Linked DNA regions of Homo sapiens: regions 1 and 2 are each linked to region 3. The links are contacts of gene promoters, found by promoter capture Hi-C in human tissues and cell types (Jung and others, 2019). All regions are on one chromosome and are shown on one strand. The core of a region is centred on a gene start or on the middle of the fragment in contact, and the rest is flanking DNA. Distances in the headings are between cores, read along the strand shown.

Evidence for each region. The method cuts DNA at HindIII sites, captures the fragments that hold promoters and counts their contacts. A contact is called where the count stands out against the background at its distance.
Region 1: a fragment that was not itself captured here is called in contact with the fragment with the promoter of LRP12 in region 3 in 1 of the 25 tissues and cell types used here (hippocampus).
Region 2: a fragment that was not itself captured here is called in contact with the fragment with the promoter of LRP12 in region 3 in 1 of the 25 tissues and cell types used here (lymphoblastoid cells).

What each region holds. Positions count from the first base shown.
Region 1 is chr8:105,621,815-105,624,514 of GRCh38, forward strand. The region is part of intron 4 of ZFPM2 (zinc finger protein, FOG family member 2); the gene reads left to right. Among named protein-coding and RNA genes, the nearest start is that of ZFPM2, 300 kb to the left of the region's middle. The HindIII fragment of the contact is 3,807 bases long and covers 1-2,700 here.
Region 2 is chr8:105,639,117-105,641,816 of GRCh38, forward strand. All of the region lies in intron 5 of ZFPM2 (zinc finger protein, FOG family member 2), which reads left to right. Among named protein-coding and RNA genes, the nearest start is that of ZFPM2, 320 kb to the left of the region's middle. The HindIII fragment of the contact is 3,692 bases long and covers 1-2,700 here.
Region 3 is chr8:104,587,872-104,590,571 of GRCh38, forward strand. LRP12 (LDL receptor related protein 12) reads right to left here and starts at 1,387. Exons shown (of 7, transcript NM_013437.5): 1 at 948-1,387. The coding sequence starts at 1,026. RefSeq lists silencers at 546-655, 1,086-1,425. The HindIII fragment of the contact is 16,882 bases long and covers 1-2,700 here.

The DNA of each region.
Region 1 (2,700 bases), core at 48-2,547, 1.0 Mb after region 3:
AATTTCTTTAAAATTGTAAAACGATTATTTTATTATTAGTTTTTATTATTATACTTTAAGTTCTAGGGTGCATGTGCACAATGTGCAGGTTTGTTACATAGGTATACATGTGCCATGTCGGTGTGCTGCACCACATGAAAGAGGGCATCCCTGTAAAATGATTATTTTAAAAGCAGAATAACCTAAATAACACTTTCAAAATAGAAACAATATAGAGAAATCCAAAAGTAATGCTGATTAGTTATTACTAATTGGAATTATTTTATATATAAGGTTATATTATTTATCTAGAAAAAAAACAAAAAGAATTATTTATCTGGCAAAAATAAATAAATAAATAAAACAACTTGGCCCAAACTTCAGTGTAACACACATGCAAATAATTGTAGAATTTAACTCACTGGTATTTCCAATCAGCAATTTTTAATTGATCAGTTTGTCATGTTAGCATTATTTACAAATCCTTTCCAACATACGCATTGATGCTTTTATTCGTATTTCTATTATTTTTATAAAGAATGTGATAGGATAGAGAATTGAGAAAGGAGTTACTAAAATGTAATTTTCTCTTATGACTGAGAATATTCTCCAAAATCTACCTGATTAAGAAATTAAATATTTTAATATAAAATTTCAGGTTTACAATGAGCACAGAGATCTTGCCTTTCATAAAGAGCATCCCATAGAAAACTAGCAACAACAAGATTTAAGACATTTTCCAGGGGCACTATTAATAAAGGTTTATCTCATTTGATTCTGACTTCTTAGCATGCTCCATTAGTTGCCCCAGGCTGACAGAGATGCTGAACAAAGGTCCTTTGGGTTGGGAGCATGTTGAGTGGATCTGTTTGGTTGAAGTCCTTTTCTCATTGTCACTCCCAAGGAAAGCAAGGAAGCAGCCTGGCTCCAGAATGAAGACAAGTGACTTGGGCACTTGGCTTTTACTCTGTAAAAGTGCAGAATTAGTATAGTCCTTCTGCATCTGTTGATTTGGTGAAAAAACAAAAACAAAATAAAACAAACAAAACTGAAAACCACTCTTATGGTTCTGAATCCTGATATTAATATAGTAAATTTTAAAACCAAATATACAGTTTTTCTTTTAACTACATGTTCTTTTCATAATGTGTGTTCTTATACCCATCTATAAACATAAACTATTAACTTGCTTATATTTTGAACTGAAAATATACCTGATATTACAATATTTGAATTGATGGAAGAAGTTTTACTTTAGATACTTAAACATTTATAATATTTCTGTTACTAAAATGTCTCACAGATTAGATAAGCTTTGTTCAGCTACTCTAACACTTCCACACTTTTGCCAACTACTTTGCCAAGATTTTATTTTTTTTGCACCTGACTTTCAATAACTTGACTTTTAATAATTTGTCTCAGAAAATCTGCCTTCCCAAAAGATACTATAGTTATCACAGCACCTATGATATAGTTTAATAATTTCACACACTTTTTCCCTTTGGAGGGGGATCCCCTTCTTATTTCCATTCTTCTAGTTTTGCCATAGACTTCTTCCATTAACTTCAAATATTGTAATAACAGGTATATTTTAAGTTCGAGATATAAGCAAGTTAATAGTTTATGTCTGTAGATGGATATAAGAATACACATCATGAAAACAACATATAATTAAAAGAAAATTGTATATTTGCTTTTAAAATTTACTATATTAATATCGGGATTCAGAATTGCCCTCTTTTTTGGCAGAGGATTGGCTGAAACAGTAATAAAAAGAAGTCAGCCTGAATGGTGACTGAGAGATTCATTACATATTTCAGTGGATTCATTCATGAAAGATGGACACATCTTAGCGTCTGAAGATGACTTTGTGCAGGGTAGTGTTTTCTCTCTTCCACAGAATACCTTTGGGTAATTCTGAAATACAGACTGTTGAACAGAATTGACCACTGTATTTTTTTTTATAGTGGTTTAAACAGGGCATTCACAGTTGAGTTAGTATGTACCTCTGTTAGATACTCCTTTTATTCTTCAGGCTAGCGTTTTTATTTTAGTCACATCACTTTCTCTAAAAGGGTTAAAATATCAAAATGTAGTAAGTTAAAATGGCTTTATTTAGCAATTGGCCAATGCAAATAGTAAAGCTTCCTTAAGTAAGTATAAGCTCAATGTGTTGAGCTTTCCTATATATTTTCTTCTCCATACTCAGAATTTGAGTGAGATTTGATGGGAATTCTACAGTAAAAAGTCTTATAATAATATCGTTATGAAACTGTAGTACATATGAGGTCATCTTAACAGAGAAGGAAGCTGAGACCTTCAGAGGTTAAGTGACTGGCCTCAGGTCACACAGCTGGTACCACAGCTCTCTGGATCCCTGAACCCTGCCACAGGTTTATGTGACAGCCTTACGTAAGAAGGGGTACTCGAGAGCAATTTACTTTTCTCTTCCCAGAGATTCAGCACTGACACACTTTTTGCACATTGCACTAGGTGCAAGCCCAGAAATTCTGCCAGGAGCAAAACAACACTCCTTAAACACCCTGTGACTTTCAGAGCTGTATAAAATAAAAGGTTGAAGTTAATGATTGCCAGTTTGGAGGGAGTAGTTCCTCTTCGGAGCCAAATGTATGTGGGGAACAGATGAGGCTGTGGGAGTGAAGTTGGCAAAAGGGAAAGAGAAATGAGTCTATTCTTTCTGGAAAATGAAAGTATAATAAA
Region 2 (2,700 bases), core at 115-2,614, 1.1 Mb after region 3:
GTGAGCAAAGGCCTGCCCACTTACTCCTAAAATCCACTGTCTGTTGAGCACTGATGATCTACTTCTTTACCTTACCTTCTTATATGCTATCTACCGTTTGCAAAGTATGGTGACCTTTTCATATGAAAAACAAATAGTGTACTTAGAATTTTACGTTTTGAGGATATTTAAAATTACACCTTTAGCATCTTTCATGTGGGTTTAATCACTCAGCTTCAAATCGGGAATAATTACATTATTTAGTTTTTCAATTTTCTTGTAGTTGTTATTTCAAAGTAGCCACATTCTCTAGGTCTCCAGATTAAGAGAATAAACACTGTCAATCAAGAGAGTGAAAAAGTATCTGCTAACCCTCACTCTCACCTCAACAACATAATATTTCTTTATATGCGAAGCCACAATATTATTATAAAAATCTATATTTCATGTGTAACCTTAGACAAATCACTTGCCCACTCTAATCTTGATTTTCTCAGCTGTGAAAATGGAATAGCAATGGCTACCATGCAGGATTTTTGTGAAGCACCCATTTACATGATTGCAGAGGTTATGATCAATATTATGTTGCTGATTATCATACAAGCAGTCCTTGTGGTCATAAGTCAGTACACACTGAGAGAAAATGAAGCCAGGCCTCCATGTTGGTATCAAGCATATAGTGATATCGTATTTATAGCGAAGACTTCTACAAGTCTTATTCAGTCACTTTGAACCCACAGAATATTTGCAGAGATCTGTGTCACAGAATTAGAGACCTGAAGCCTGTCTGGGAGCATATCATTGGATTTTTTTCTTGGGCACGTGATACTTTTATTTTAGTGAAAGTCTTATATACAATGCTAGTATAAAGATGAAAATGATGATATTATTAATACTAATAATAGCAATTACTATTTATTAATCTTTGTTCTATTCTAGACACTGTTCTAATCACTTTACGTACATTTTCTTGCTTACAATACAAATTCATGATATCGAAACAGTGCTTTTCCCATTTTACAGATGAATAAATTTAGGTTTCGATGGGTTAAGTAAGTTAAAATGAAGAAGTTGGGATTCAATCTTAAGCTTGTTGACTTCAATTCCCAATTGTACAATCAACAAAATTTTGGAAGATGCCATTTACTAAGCCAAGGTTACAGGTTATTGCCTTTCTTTGCAAATTTGCATACATATTTATCAGCAATTTTTTTTCCCATTCTTTGGCTTGACTTTAAAGAGATTATTCAAACACTAAAACAGCAGTGGCAGCAATAGTTTATGCTAATTTCTTTGTTGTTTCTGAGACCACAGCAATTTCAAATCATGTAGACGGCTGCACAGCAATCTCAAAATCATACTATGACAGCCTTCAAAGTTCTGATTTTGCAAGGTTCTTATGAATTTAAGCATGCAATTAGTTAATTTAACCATTTTTGAATGTCCTTTATGTCCAAGGGCCTATTCTAGGCACCATTGAAATAATGACAGAAATTCTAGTATGATTTAGCTTGAGTAAGTAACTTTCTGCACACTCTCTAAATTAAATTTTCAAAACAAATGTCTTTCATTACAAAGATTCTTGTAAAAGTCCGAACCATGTTCCACCTTAAAATAGATAATCTGTTGCATGTTACTAGAATTTTCAAACAATAGCTTTGTCTAATGTGGCAGCCAATTTTCAGAGTAGCCCAAAAGTTAATGTTTAACTTTACCTAGAGGGTATAATGTTGTATAAATAATAAACTAATTTAAAAGGAAAAATTTGCGTTCATATTTTACGCATTTATTTAACTATTCAGTAATTCATAGAAAATGTATAACCATTGTCTAATTTTACAGTATTCTTGAAAGAGGGTGAGTGCCCGAACTAAATATTTAGCAGTGGGAATTATAAAATCATAAGGCGATTAAGTTAGCTAGTCGCAGAATTCCAATATTGCTTTTTAAATGACTTCAGGATATAGGAGGTACTAAGGTTATTATCTGTTATCAGGAATACAGTGGAATTGTACAACTGGATAATAACCAAACAAACTGACACAATGTAAAATTACATTATCAGTGTGTTAAAACAAAATTGCGCCCTAAAGGAGTCCACATGCCAGCTCAGAGCTGCAGTGTAATTATGCTTAACTCTGATAATTAAAATACTACGGAGATCAACAGAATCATTTTCATTAAGAAAATTATTAATGATGGTGGTATAACAGTAATTGATTGCAGAGCACCACAGGATAACGCGATGCCGAAAACCCATGTTTCATGAACATCTGAGGCTTTTTCTGGTTACGTTCTATTAATATTTTGAGGAGTGAGCAATTTATTATTCCTTTCCTAGGAATCTATGATTGTAAAAATGGCTGCTTTTTAAAAACCACAGTTTTGATTCAAATTGTCATTTCTAAGGGGTTCTTAAGGTCAAGACAAGTGACCCCACTAGTGACTGTGTTATTTAAAATAGAGCTGTCTGTTGCAAATTGCAGAATGGCAGCAACTTCTGCAAATAGTGAGCCTTGTGTCATTTCCATTTCTTACTATGCATTTACTGTTTTTACTGTTATGTTAGTGATTTATTGATGTTATTTCAATCTGAGTCTGGGTGTACTGAATAGTTTATTGTCTTTAGTTATTACTACTATATGCTATATGATGTGAAAAATACATTTGTTTTTATATCAGCATCACTGTGAGTTTCCTTAATGAAATGTTGGTAAATAG
Region 3 (2,700 bases), core at 137-2,636:
TTAAAACTGAGCTCTCTGAAATACCTATTCAGTGTGTTTAACTGATGAACTAAGAACGGTGAAGTCAGAAGTGTAACTTAATTATCTTAAGAGATAGATGTTCTTTGCAATTAATTCCATTCAGCTCTTGCTCAGACCCCAACGCAATATAAAGCTGTCCGCACAGTCTTCAGCCTTCTCTTAACCCGAAAGGAGTTATCTCTAACCCGATCCATCGACTGGAATAAAGTAACAGTGACCACAGCGGCGGACGAGGATGGATGAAATTACAATTGAACTAGGAGTCAGGACAGATGTGTACACCCTAACAGGAGAGACTGAGGTGGGGCTGGAAACTATTTTCTGGCCTTCTCCCGCGTGCTGCTCCCGGGGAACCAACAGGACCCTGCACGCCCGGATTCGGCAGAGCCCTTGCCCCCGAGGTGGAGTGGGGAGAAGTCAGCGGGAAGCCTTTTCAGGGAATCGAGTAGGACAAGGGCTGGCGCGGTGGGAATCTCGCCGGTGAGAGAACTTCCTAACCCCGGGTTGAGGGGGCGGGGGGAAGGACCGTCCCGGCAGCGGCGGGGGCGAGCTCCTCTGCTTTCTCACAGTCAAGCATCTTTGTGTGTGGATTGTGCCAGGCTACGGGTCCTGGAGCAACTGGCCGCGGGGGCCCTCGAACCCAGGTCGGGAAGTCCGCCCGCCACCCCCTCGCTCCGCCGGGGCCCTCCCGGCCGGGCCCCCCAGCCCCTCTCCACCACCCGAGGGTCTGGAGGTGGACGAGTGGAGAAAAGCATCTCCGTGTGGGGACACCCGTTCCGCCACATCCACCCCCTCACCGGTCTTTGTCCCGCCGGTAGCCAGGGTCTCCGCGGGAGTCTCCAGGGGAACCCCCGTCCTGGAGGCCTCGGGGCCCGGGTCGCCTCAGCTTTGTTCGGTCAGCGGGGCGCGGGGACGCGGACACTTACCGTACACCCCAGCGAGGAAAAGCAAGAGCAACGCAGACCTCCACCGCGGAGACTCTTTTGTGCTCCAGCGACAGGCCATAACCACAGCAGATGGAGAGAGAGAGGAGGAGACGGAGGAGGAGGGAGGAGAAGCTGGAGGTAGACGACGCCGACGCCGCCGCCGCCGCCGCCGCCGCCGCCGAGCCACCGGCTGCTCCCTGCGCTCTCCGCGGCTGCGGGAGGGGGAAGGGAGGGGCCGCCGCCGCCCGCGCGCGCTCCCTCCTCCCTCCTCCCTCCGGCTCGCCTGCTCCCACCCCGGGCGGTGCGAGAGCCCCACGCGGGGCGGCCCTCCTGGGGGCAAGGGCAAGGAGCTCGCGCGCCAGCGCGAGACGAGAGGGTGGCGGACGCCGGACTCCGGCCTCGCGCCGCTCGGGCTAGCCGGCGCCGCCACTCGCCAGACTGAGCGCGCGCCCATCCGTGCGATCGGCAATCCCCTGGCCCGCCTGCCTCGGTTCCCTCCCCGCGCTCCGCTGGACTTTCCAAGTTTCGGGCCGATTTCCACGCGACGGGAGCCCAAGGAGCAAGGCAGCGCCAATCGATGACAGAGCGTGCGAACGCCGGCTGCTGGATGCCCAGGGGCTGGAGCGCGGGGTGTGTGGAGGAGCACGGTCGCTGTCCGAGGGCTGGGCTCTGGCCCAGCGGGTGGGGGGAGGGGGGGTGGGATACCAGCTGGGAGGCTGAAGGTGGTTCCGTGTTGGGGGAGGCGTGGATGGTCTGAAGCTGACAACTTGGGAGTTCCTTCCTCTATCCGGTACCCCCAAGTCTCCACTTGCTGTCGGCGCGGAGCTTCGAGTGGGGGTGGGCTCAAGTTAGTGCGGCCAACCTGGCAGCTGGTCGGTCAAGGGGCAGTGTGGACTCCCACGCTCAAGGTGCCCGGAATGAGTCGGGCAAGGCTTGTGCAGAGCCCCTCCAGTCTGGCGTGGAAGCGCCAAGAGGTCATTTGACATCTCACGCTGGGTCGGGTGCAGCTGGGCCAGGATGTTCGGCAGGGCTGGAGCCGACTTTCAGGGTAGATATATTGAAAGGAGGATTCGCCCATCACGCTGCAGTTTCCCTAAAGCTCTTTTCTCACTCCCAGCAAATGGGAGTCCTCCTTTACTTAGATCCCCAGAACACTTTTCTAAGTACGTCTGTAGTGACGCTGGCACATCAGACCTTACCCCCTGTGTTTTTAAAGCGTTTGTCTACAACGTCTTATTTATATTAGATTTTATCGTTGCCCTTTGCAAGCACTCTCCATGCTATTCATTGAAGACCTACACTGCATCATGCTGTCCTATTGACATAGGTTGTCACTTTTTAATCCCAAACATCCTTGTGAGATAAATATTACCCATGTTTTATAGAAAAGAGAGAAATTAAATTACTCATGGCAAGTAAGTTGTTTGAAACAGTTTTTCTCATTCCAAAGTAAAGATTGTTGCCCCTATACCACAGCAAACTCTCTAGCACAATGCTTAGCGCCTAGTAATGTGTCGGAGTTGGTGCCTGCCAGGGGGTTCGTGGTCTCCCTGACTTCAAGAATGAAGCTGCAGACCTTCCCGGTGACTGTTAACAGCTCTTAAAGATGGCACGGACTCAAAGAGTGAGCGGTAGCAAGGTTTATTGCGAAGAGCAAAAGGACAGCTTCCACAGCATGGAAGAGAACCCCAGGTGCTGGCTGGTGGTGGCCAGCTTTTATTCCCTTGTGGTCCCCTCCCATGTTCCATTTCTG